2 separate regions of the Homo sapiens genome follow, and region 2 is linked to region 1. Evidence: promoter capture Hi-C in human tissues and cell types (Jung and others, 2019). All regions are on one chromosome and are shown on one strand. The core of a region is centred on a gene start or on the middle of the fragment in contact, and the rest is flanking DNA. Distances in the headings are between cores, read along the strand shown. Region 1 holds the start of UMOD (uromodulin). Region 2 has its middle 50 kb from the start of GP2.

The links. The method cuts DNA at HindIII sites, captures the fragments that hold promoters and counts their contacts. A contact is called where the count stands out against the background at its distance.
Region 2: a fragment that was not itself captured here is called in contact with the fragment with the promoter of UMOD in region 1 in 2 of the 25 tissues and cell types used here (esophagus and pancreas).

Annotation. Positions count from the first base shown.
Region 1 is chr16:20,350,803-20,355,971 of GRCh38, reverse strand. It overlaps UMOD (uromodulin), which reads left to right and starts at 3,257. Exons shown (of 11, transcript NM_003361.4): 1 at 3,257-3,283; 2 at 5,133-5,169. The HindIII fragment of the contact is 15,409 bases long and covers 1-5,169 here.
Region 2 is chr16:20,275,194-20,280,322 of GRCh38, reverse strand. No RefSeq gene overlaps it. Among named protein-coding and RNA genes, the nearest start is that of GP2, 50 kb to the left of the region's middle. The HindIII fragment of the contact is 4,833 bases long and covers 935-5,129 here.

The DNA of each region.
Region 1 (5,169 bases), core at 2,008-4,507:
AAGGAATGCAGGTAAATCTGAGTGAGATTTGAGTTTTAGTCTGGATTTAACACTCGCTAGCTGTGTAATCTTGGGGGAGTTACTCCACCTCTCTGAACTTGTCTTCTTCCCTGTGACGTGGGTTGTTGTGTTTCATTGTTTGAGACAATGGAGGCAAAAGCACTGAGCACAGTGTCTGACCCAAGAGAAGTGCTCAGTGGGTGATTGTTCTCAGCATTATTAAGATCAAGTCTCCTACCCATGTTTGAAAGTTAAGAGAGAAAAGTGTTTCAGGCTGGTTGTGGTGGCTCATGTCTGTAATCCCAGCACTTTGGGAGGCCGAGGCAGGCAGATTACCTGAGGTCAGGAGTTCGAGACCAGCCTGGCCAATGTGTACAAAAAAAACACAAATTAGCCGGGCATGGTGGTATGCACCTGTAATCCCAGCTACTCGGGAGGCTGAGGATTCAAGGATTCAAGAGAATCACTTGAACTTGGGAGGTGGAGGTTGCAGTGAGCCAAGACTGAGCCACTGCACTCCAACCTGGGTGACAGAGCAAGACTCCATTAAAAAAAAAAAAAAGAAGAAGAAAAAGAAAGAAAGAAAGAAGAGTGTTTCAAGAGCGAAGTGCTGAGAGATTAAGGTTCGTTCAAAAACAAATATTTATTGTGCACTGTCCTAGAGGTAAGATAAAGAGAAAAATATTGATTGAATTTGGTAACATGGATGTCTTTGGTGAACTTGATGAGCAACAGAGCAGGAAATTATGGCCACTGACAACTTGTTATACTCACAGATCCCAAGAGAAGGGGACACACCACACTGGGCAGAGGGGCTGAAGGGAGAGGAAGAGCTGCTGGGAAGTACCAGGGTCGGTCAGGAAGCAAAGAGAGCAAGGGAAAAGGCAGGAAAGAGCCTTTATTGTAGTTTCTGCAGGAAGGAATGGGAGAGGCAAGGTAAGCAGATTTAGGATTGGCTTAGTTTGAATAATTTCAGAGACCTCTGGGCCATAGGAGTTGTCTCTAGTTGTCTGGTACCTGGTCCCTTGGGGTGATCTAAAGCAGCAAGTAGTGACCCTAAGTGTAAAAGCCCCAAAAAGGAGGCCAAGGGTTGGGGGTATGTGGTCTGGATTGATTGATTTGCAGTCGGAAAGGCACATTCACAGATAAGTCGTTTTTGATCTCTAGTAATTATTGAGCCCTGGGAGGGGCAGTCCCTCCATGATCAGTAAGGCCCCAAAATGTACAAGCACCAAATACAGAAACTAGAAAGCATGGTGATTACACTTATGAATAGATTCCAACCCAAACTCCCCATTTTCCTGCCCAAGTCTTTGTCAAGAAAACTCCAGAAGCCACCTGGGGTCACTGTCTTTAATCCTTTGAAGACACCCATAATAAGGTTTAGACAAGGCCTCATGAAAAAGGTATAGGATAAAAACGACTAGTTCAGAAAAAAAAAAGTAAATAAATGAAGAGATAACTTCCCTTTTCATCAAAGAATTGCAAAAATGAACAATAATGAGATCGTTTCCACTTATCCTTTTGGCAAAGATGAAAGCAAGTTACCAATGCTCAGAACTGGTGAGTAGTGTTGGTGGGATTGTAAACCAATTTATAATAATTCTCTGGGGTGCTGTTTGGGAAGAGGAGTCAATATTCCTACAGCTGTGCTACCTCTTTGACCCAGAATTTCCACTCCTTGGACATAATCCTGAGGAGATGACAACACCAGTGCCAGTGGTTACCCTACCACTGAGTGGGACAGGATGGAGAAATGTCCTGAAAAGAGCAATTCACAATAGCAAAGACTTGGAACCAACTCAAATGTCCATCAATGATAGACTGGATTAAGAAAATGTGGCACATATACACCGTGGAATACTATGCAGCCATAAAAAATATGAGTTCATGTCCTTTGTAGGGACATGGATGAAGATGGAAACCATCATTCTCAGCAAACTATCGCAAGGACAAAAAACCAAACACCGCATGTTCTCACTCACAGGTGGGAATTGAACAATGAGAGCACTTGGACACAGGAAGGGGAACATCACACCCAGGGGCCTATTGTGGGATGCGGGGAGCGGGGAGGGATAGCATTAGGAGTTATACCTAATGTAAATGACAAGTTAATGGGTGCAGCACATCAACATGGCACATGTATACATATGTAACAAACCTGCACGTTGTGCACTTGTACCCTAAAACTTAAAGTATAAAAAAAAAAAAGATCAATGCAGTGATCATGGTGATATTTTCCTGCTCAGCCCAAGTTCACACATATTTTATTTTTCTCAACATGATGACAGCCACTCTCACACTGACTTTTGGAATGTCATGTATGTTGAACTGGGTCTGAAGACATGGTTTTAACTCAGGCTCTGTCATTTTCTACCTCAGTGATTGCACAACAGCAAAGCAGAATTTTCACTACTTCCATGAATATAATCATTACTATATGACTTTACTTGCATCATCTCCTTTGGTTACTATTACTACTGTGGGAGATGGGTATTCTCATTTTATAGACAAGGAAATTGACCTCTGGACCTCAGGAAGGTTAAGAAATGAGCCCACTGCCACACAATAAACACCAGATAAAGGAGGCAGACTGACTCCAAAGTCAGTCTATTTAAGTGCAAATTTATTTCGCCTCCAAAGGGACCTCCCAGTCATCAGACCTGATTCTTTGTTGTACAGAGTGGGTCAGGTCCAGTGATGTCTGAACTACCTTCTGGTTCTGACTTTCAGCCATTCTCAGCTCCTCTCTTGCTTGTGTCTGGATTCTAAGGCTGATCTCATGAGAATGGGTGTTTCAGAAGGGTGCCCTCTCCAAGACAGGTGCACCTCCCATCTGGGGCAGTGAATATCCCTTTTGTCCTTATGCAGCCTGGCTTCAGATACTGGCTTCTGCCTGGCTCCTTGATCCCACCCTGCCCTTGTCAGTGACCAAGAAGAAGCCCAGCACCTTGGCACTGCTTTCCCAGTTAATTTCTAACTATGGAATCTCTTGCTGTTAGAAGGTGCGAAACAGTGACCTTGTATTTCCGGGCACAGGTGTGACCCCCCAATGTCAATCATTTGGGGTCTCTAGCTATTAGGAAAAAGAACAACAACAACCTCACAGCTTGGACAAGGCAAACATTATGCCAGGAGGAAAAAATATTCCACCCCCAAGAAAACAATATCAAAAAACAGAACTAGAGACTAATTGGAGGAGAGATTGCCAGCCTGGGGCAAATGTGTATATATAAGTATGAGGCACATCATGACCAGACTAACTCTACCTTTCTGGCTTCAGGTAAGGCTATCTGTAGCTGTCTTCTCCTAGCCCAGCTTCTCCCCATCCTATTTGAGGGAGGTAGGAGAGGAAATTAAGACCTTGGACACTGGGGTCAGACCTGGATTTGAGTCATTATTCTGCCAATTATTGGCTTCATGATCTTTAGTAAGTTAGTTTTCCTCTCTTTGATCCTCTCTGTCCTAGTAACAATGACTACTATTTTTTGACTTATTCCATGAATATTAGTTATGCACCTATTATGTGCCAGGTACCAGGGTTACAACAATGAACAACTTGCTATGTGCTGGGCCCTGCTCGACATATGTCATCTTAGTTAATCCCAGTGACAATATGCAGTGTTTTAGGTCGCATCTTATTAGCGGGTCATAAAATCATTCCTTTTGTGGGTTATATCCAGGGACTTCTTTTAATTAAATATAATAGAATATGTCAGTAAGCAATACAAATTTGAGGCAAGCAGTTAGCCTCTTTGTCCCCCTGTTTTCTCATCTGCAAACTAGGATAATACTTATCTCATAGGGTTGTGGTAAGAATTAAATCACTTAATGTAGTAAGGATATCAATTGTCTTATAAAATTTTATGTGTGTGTGCACATACATGCAGAAGCGACTGCACTAGATCATGACATAAAATGTTTTTCTTTCTTTCTGTCTTTTTTTTTTTGGGGGGGGGGGATGGACTCTCTGTCACCCAGGCAGGAGTGCAGTGGCACGATCTCAGCTCACTGCAACCTCTGCCTCCCAGGTTCAAGCAATCCTCCTGTCTCAGCCTCCCGAGTAGCTGGGATTACAGGCGCCCACCACCATGCCCGGCTAATTTTTGTATTTTTATTAGAGATGGGGTTTCACCATGCTGGCCAGGCTGGTCTCAAACTCCTGACCTTGTGATCCACCCCCTCAGTCTCCCAAAGTGTTGGGATTACAGGCATGAGCCACTGCACCTGGCAACATAAAATGTTTTTCTTTTAGTACATCATGGTCACGAAGATCTGGAAAACGTTGCTCTAGGACCCAATGCCTTTGAGCACATGAATGTCTTTGAACTGAGCCTGGCCCATCATAGATATTCAGTTTGTGAAAGCAACAATCTCCATTTCACAGACAAAAACGGAGACTTAGTAAACTGAAATACCCACATCACAGTGTTAGTGATCAGTAAAGCAGGGATTTGAACCTCAGGTGCAGGCTGCAGCTCCTACATACTTAACCAACATGCCACCCTATTTTGCTGCTATAAACACTGGGGTAATACTGGCATCCACCCTGGACTATTTTTCCAATTGGAAGAAATAGTAAGTGACCACTCCAGAAACATTTAAATGCATTGTGAAGGTTAATTACCTCTCAAGTTGCTCGTCTCAAGCCACTTCTTTACGATATGTGAGTTGCATGAAGGAGCAGACTGCCATGTTCATTGTTCTCCATGGTGACTAGCTCCCTGTTTGGCACAATGTAGCTACTCAATAGATGTTTGTTGAATGAATAAGTGATCCAGGCAAATTGAAAGTTTCCAGGCAGAGGATCAGTTAAAATCCAAAGCTGCCTTCAGTAAAGTGGTGAGTCCAGAACACTATTCCATCTGGCTACTTCCTGCTCCAAATGACTGAGTTCTTCAAAATGTGCAATGTGCTGAGAATTGGGGAGCCAAGACTGGGATGTTGGTGAGGTAAGGAGGGGGAGTACAAGGGGTAAAGTCCCAGCAAAACAAGGGCTGCAGTGTTATGCAATTTTTTAGTCCATATAAGTGACACCTCCTGGAGTTGTATACTATACAATCAAAGCACTCCTTCCAGCTGTGGGGAGGAGAGTTAGATCATGCATTTGTCCCATCCATCTCTGTTCACAGGACACCAGACATCAGAGACAGAGAGAAAAATTCAAAG
Region 2 (5,129 bases), core at 2,102-4,601, 76 kb after region 1:
GCTCCAAGTCCTAAGTGTGTGGACAATTCATTACGCTTGTGTTTGAAGTCCATTTGTAGCTGTGTTTGATGTATTGTCTGCAGGGAGACAGTGAAATTTGCCAGCCTTCAGACAAACAACTGAGCCTAATTTTTCACCCAAGGATTCTAAAGAAGTTTCTTCTTGGCAGAGGCTTGAGCAAGGCACAGTTGATGAAATTGATTGTGGCAAGATGATGTGAGAAGAGGAACACATTCTTTACTACTGAAAGATGCACATAAAAGGTGAGTAGCCCATCAGGAAGTGAACAGAATCATGAGGAAATTTGCTGGCCCCGGGGAGTTTTGGGCCTCTTTAAGTGTTCTCTGCCTCCTGTCACCTTCCCAATAGCAGAGGCCTTGAAACCTGGCCTTCAGCACCCAAGATCTCAGATCCTGCTGGGTGCATCCTAACAAATCCTTCCTTCAGGTTTTACACTTCATTACAGTGATGAAGATTATCAGGAGTTGGTGCTTGCTTGGGCTACAGGTAGTATTTGCAGAAAGCTTCCAGGCTTTCACCTCCTGCCTTGCCACCCACACTCCACTTTGCTTTGATTTCAAAGCCTTCACCCAATGAGAGATCTGACCTTCAGGTCAAAACCTCAGGGGATGGACTCTCTTGGTCCTTTTCCTATCCTAACCCATGAGAAAATGAAATGCTTACTGCAGCTCTCCTAGAAATCTTTTGTAGCATAAAATCAGTATTGGTCTTAGGATATAATTTTGGCTTCAAAAGCCAGTTTCTGATGTTTGCAATTGAACAATGCCCATTTGAAGGAGGAAAAAAAAATAGGCAGACTGAATGCAGGGCTTCTCAGAGATTTGGGTAAATAAATATTCTCTCTGATAGGCTCCAGCCTCTCTGCAAAGAAAAAGTACACCGAGAAAATGATCGGTCAAGTGGGCAGATTTTGCAGGAGTTTTTATTGTTCGTTTGTTTGAGGTAACAAGGGTTCTATCTGAGAAAAAGGCTTCACGGCTAGTGTCTGAGCCCTGAGGAGAGGGATGCTGAGGAGTGTCTGTGAGACTTGAGGGGCTCTGACAATACAGCTCTGGGGGCTCTGGGACAAAGTGGGGCACATGCAGGCAGAGAGCAGCATTTGAGTCATTTTGGCACAGCCTGCAGTGTGGCTTCTGCTCAGGAATGACAGTGGGAATGCAGCATTATCCAGTAGGACCAGACTGCAGGCTCTGGGCTAGATGACCTGGATTCAAATCCTGGCTCTGCTTCTTCTAATCAACTTGGGGCAAGTTACTTCATGTGTCTGCCCCTTGGTTTTCTCATCTGTAAAATGGGTATATTAATAGTGATTACCTCCTAAGCTTACTATGAGGGATAAATGAATTATTACATGGAGGGTGCTTTTATGGGTATAGAGAAAGGATCTGCTAAGTGCTGGCTCGTTTTGATGTTGTTGCTGTGTTGCAGATTGCCAGCTTTGAGGAGTACCCATTGACACCACCCTTGACTTCACGCATTTGTCAAGATGGCTCCAGCGGGAGCTGGTGAGACATAGCCACTGAAAAGGGACTTGGAGTATACACACTCTGAGAGGACTATCTGGGAGTTTATGTGAAACTCTATGGGTGAGAATTTGCCTAGTGCAGGGAGAGCCCAAAGACCTTCATTACACAGATGAGATGCCAGTCAGTGAAATAGGTATTACCACTATTAGTATAACCTCCTCAGACTCTCAACTTCAGGGAACTTGAGAAAATACATTACCCCCAAAGAGGCTGAGGGAAACATAATCAAAGAAAATAGTTGAATAGTTTAGCAGCTGAGAGCATAGTCATCTGTACTCCTGGGTTCAAATCCCAAATCTGCCAGTTCAAATCCCAGATCTGCCTAACTGTGTTTGGGGCAAGTTAATTAAATTCTTCTGTGCCTTAGTTTCCCCTACTACAAAATGGAAATAAAAATAATAGCCCATATTTCATAAAGTTGTTGTTGGGCTTTAAAGACATCATTAAAATAAAGCACTTAACATGGCACAGTAGCCAACAAATATTAGCAATCATAATTTTTCTCATGTAATCCAAAGGGGAAAATGACAGATACACCCACAATGCCTTCTTGTTAAAGGAAATAGCTGTGTCCTGCCAATGGAGTAGAGAGTCCTCTCATTCAACCAAAGACAAATTTCACAAACTTACTCCACCCACACTGGTCTCTTTTCAGCTCCTAGAACCTGCCAGGTTATTACCAGTTTGGGTGATCTTGCATATGCTGTTCCATCTTCCAAGAATTCTCTTCCTCCTGCTCCTCCTATGGCCCACTCCTTCTCATTATTCGAGGTTCCGTTCAATGTCAACTTCACAGACCATCTTCCCTGCCCATAGGTGTTGATATAGTTTGGCTGTGTCCCCATCCAAATCTCATCCTGAATTCCTACGTGTTGTGGGAGGGCCCCGGTGGGAGGTAATCGAATCATGGGGGCAGGTTTTTCCCATGCTGATCTTGTGATAGTAAATAAGTCTCATGAGATCTGATGGTTTTAAAAATAGGAGTTTCCCTGCACAAGCTCTCTTTGCCTGTCATCATCCATATAAGATGTGACTTGCTCCTCCTTGCCTTCCACCATGATCGTGAGGCCTCCCCAGACATGTGAAACTGTAAGTCAATTAAACCTCTTTCTTTTGTAAATTGCCCAGTCTTAGGTATGTCTTTATCAGCAGTGTGAAAACAGATTAATACAGGTATCTACAGCAGCATCCCCAAACCCACCCACATGCACACACTATGTGCTATCACATCCCCTACAAATGCCCTTCCTGGAATCCATCACGATCTGAAATGTTCTTTTGTTTTCTTATTTTCTTATTGCGGGCCTTGTTTGCTAGAATTTGCCTTTCATCTGGACAGGAATCTCTTCTATCTTGATTACCATGACACGCCCAGCAGGTTGCACAGTGCCTGCCACATAGTAGATGCTCAATAATTGTCAAACATGAATGAGCTAGAAGCCCGCAACCACTCCTGCACATTTGGAGGCTTTGGGAAGGGGCTGCCTGTTCTCAGATGATGCTACCATTTCCATAAAGCAGAGGTTGGTAAATTCTGGCCTACAAAGGCATCACATGTTTTTTGTTTTTTTTTTTCCAACCCAACCAATTCTCTGACACCAACTCGGTGTCTAACAATTCAATTCTATTTTGACTAACTATTAACTATTCAGAATTAGTGCAGACCCCACAGCTCAAGAGCTTAGTTCCTCAAGACTGCCCCCAGTGCAGACACCAGCCACAAATCGGGTGTCCAAGTTACCTACACTGCTGCCCAGACAACTACAAATTCAGGGGTTCCCACAACCTTCCATCAGGTTCAATAATCATTAGAATGACACAGAACTCAGAAGGGCACTTTATTTACATTTGCTGGTTTATTATAAAGGGTACGTATCAGGAATAAGCAAATGAAAGATTGCACAGGGCAAGGTATGGGAATGATGGGGTGGCATAGAGCTTGCCTGCCTTCCCCAAGTGCACCACCCTCTCAGCACATCAATGTGTCCACCAACCCAGAGGTTCCCTGAATCTCACTGATTAAGAGTTTTTATAACTCAATCTTCAGTCCCCCTCCCCACCCCCAGACATCAGTGAGTAGGGATGAAAGTCTCCCCCAACACAATCACATGTAGTCTTTTTGGTGCCCAGCCCCCATTCTGAAGCTATCTAGGGGCTCCACTCTGAATCATCTCATTAGTATAAACTCAGGCATAGTGGAAAAGGGCCCACTGCCTGTTTGTGTAAATAAAGTTATAGTGAAATATAGCCACACCCATTTGTCTGTACATTGTCTATAGTTGCTTTCATGCTTTAATAAGATTGGCATACTCACTACAGAAATTGCATGGCCTACAAACCTGAAAATATTTACTCTCTGTCCTATTGCAGAAAAGTTCGCTGACTCCTGTCCTAGAAGATGGACCCCCAAGAATGTCTGAACACTAATAGCAGCTGCTGGACAGGTGAGTACCCAGAACAAATCTTGGGAAATGCTTGAGGGAAATGTGGCAGGGATGGAGGCTTCTCCATTGTGCATCTCATGGAGAATCTGAAGACCCCTGGGGACTAAGATCAAGCCAGTGGGCTAGAAGGTCTGCTCAGCCAAAGATGGCTCCGGCCCCCACACTGTACATTCCCTGTCACTTGTTACCCCCACCCCACACATACACTTAAGCATGTGTTTCCATCCCAATGCCTAAAGGATGCTGTTCATTTCCCCCTTCCCATTTGATTCCTACCCATTCTTCAAAGCTTAACCCTGCAATGTAGCGAATAAACAATTTTAAGAAGCTCCAACTATGTCCCAGGTACTGAACTTCTTTCTTCTCATGGAATTTCAGTGCAGAGTGGAAGACGGATTAGAAACCAAGTAACTACAACACTTCCCAGTAAGGGCTACACTAGGAGCATCCTGGGGCCCTGGGAGCACTGAAAAGCAGTACCTACCCCAACTCTGGGGAATCAAGGAAGACTTCCTGGAGGTGGGGAGATCTGAACTAAGTTCTGAAAGGAATGAGCCAAGCAAGCAGATTAGAAGAGGGTGGTAGGAACAGCACGTGCAAGGCCCAGAGTAGGAGAAAGAGCAGAGCTGCAGGAATCAGCAGAGAGGCAGAGTGGAAGCTGCTCAACCACAGGCCTGTTCTGAGCTCATAGGGCTTCTTTCTACAAATGGAGTGATGAGATGTGCAGGAAGAGGATTTTGGGGAAACTGGTAAATGATGTGGTTTCTGTTTGTGTTTCATCAGCTCAATTGTAAGCCCTTCATGGGCAGGGACATTGTTTCATTTTTTGTTTGTTTGTTTGTTTGTTTGTTTTTGAGACAGAGTCTCACTCTGTTGCCCAGACTGGAGTGCAGTGGCGTGATCTTGGCTCACTGCAACCTCCACCTCCCGAGTTCAAGCAATTCTTCTGCCTTGGCCTCCTGAGTAGCTGGGATTACAGGTGTGCGCCACCATGCCTGGCTAATTTTTGTATTTTTAGTAGAGACAGGATTTCACCACATTGGTCAGGCTAGTCTCGAACTCCTGACCTTGTGATCTGCCTACCTCAGCCTCCCAAAGTGCTGGGATTACAGACGTGAGCCACCACACACAGCGACCT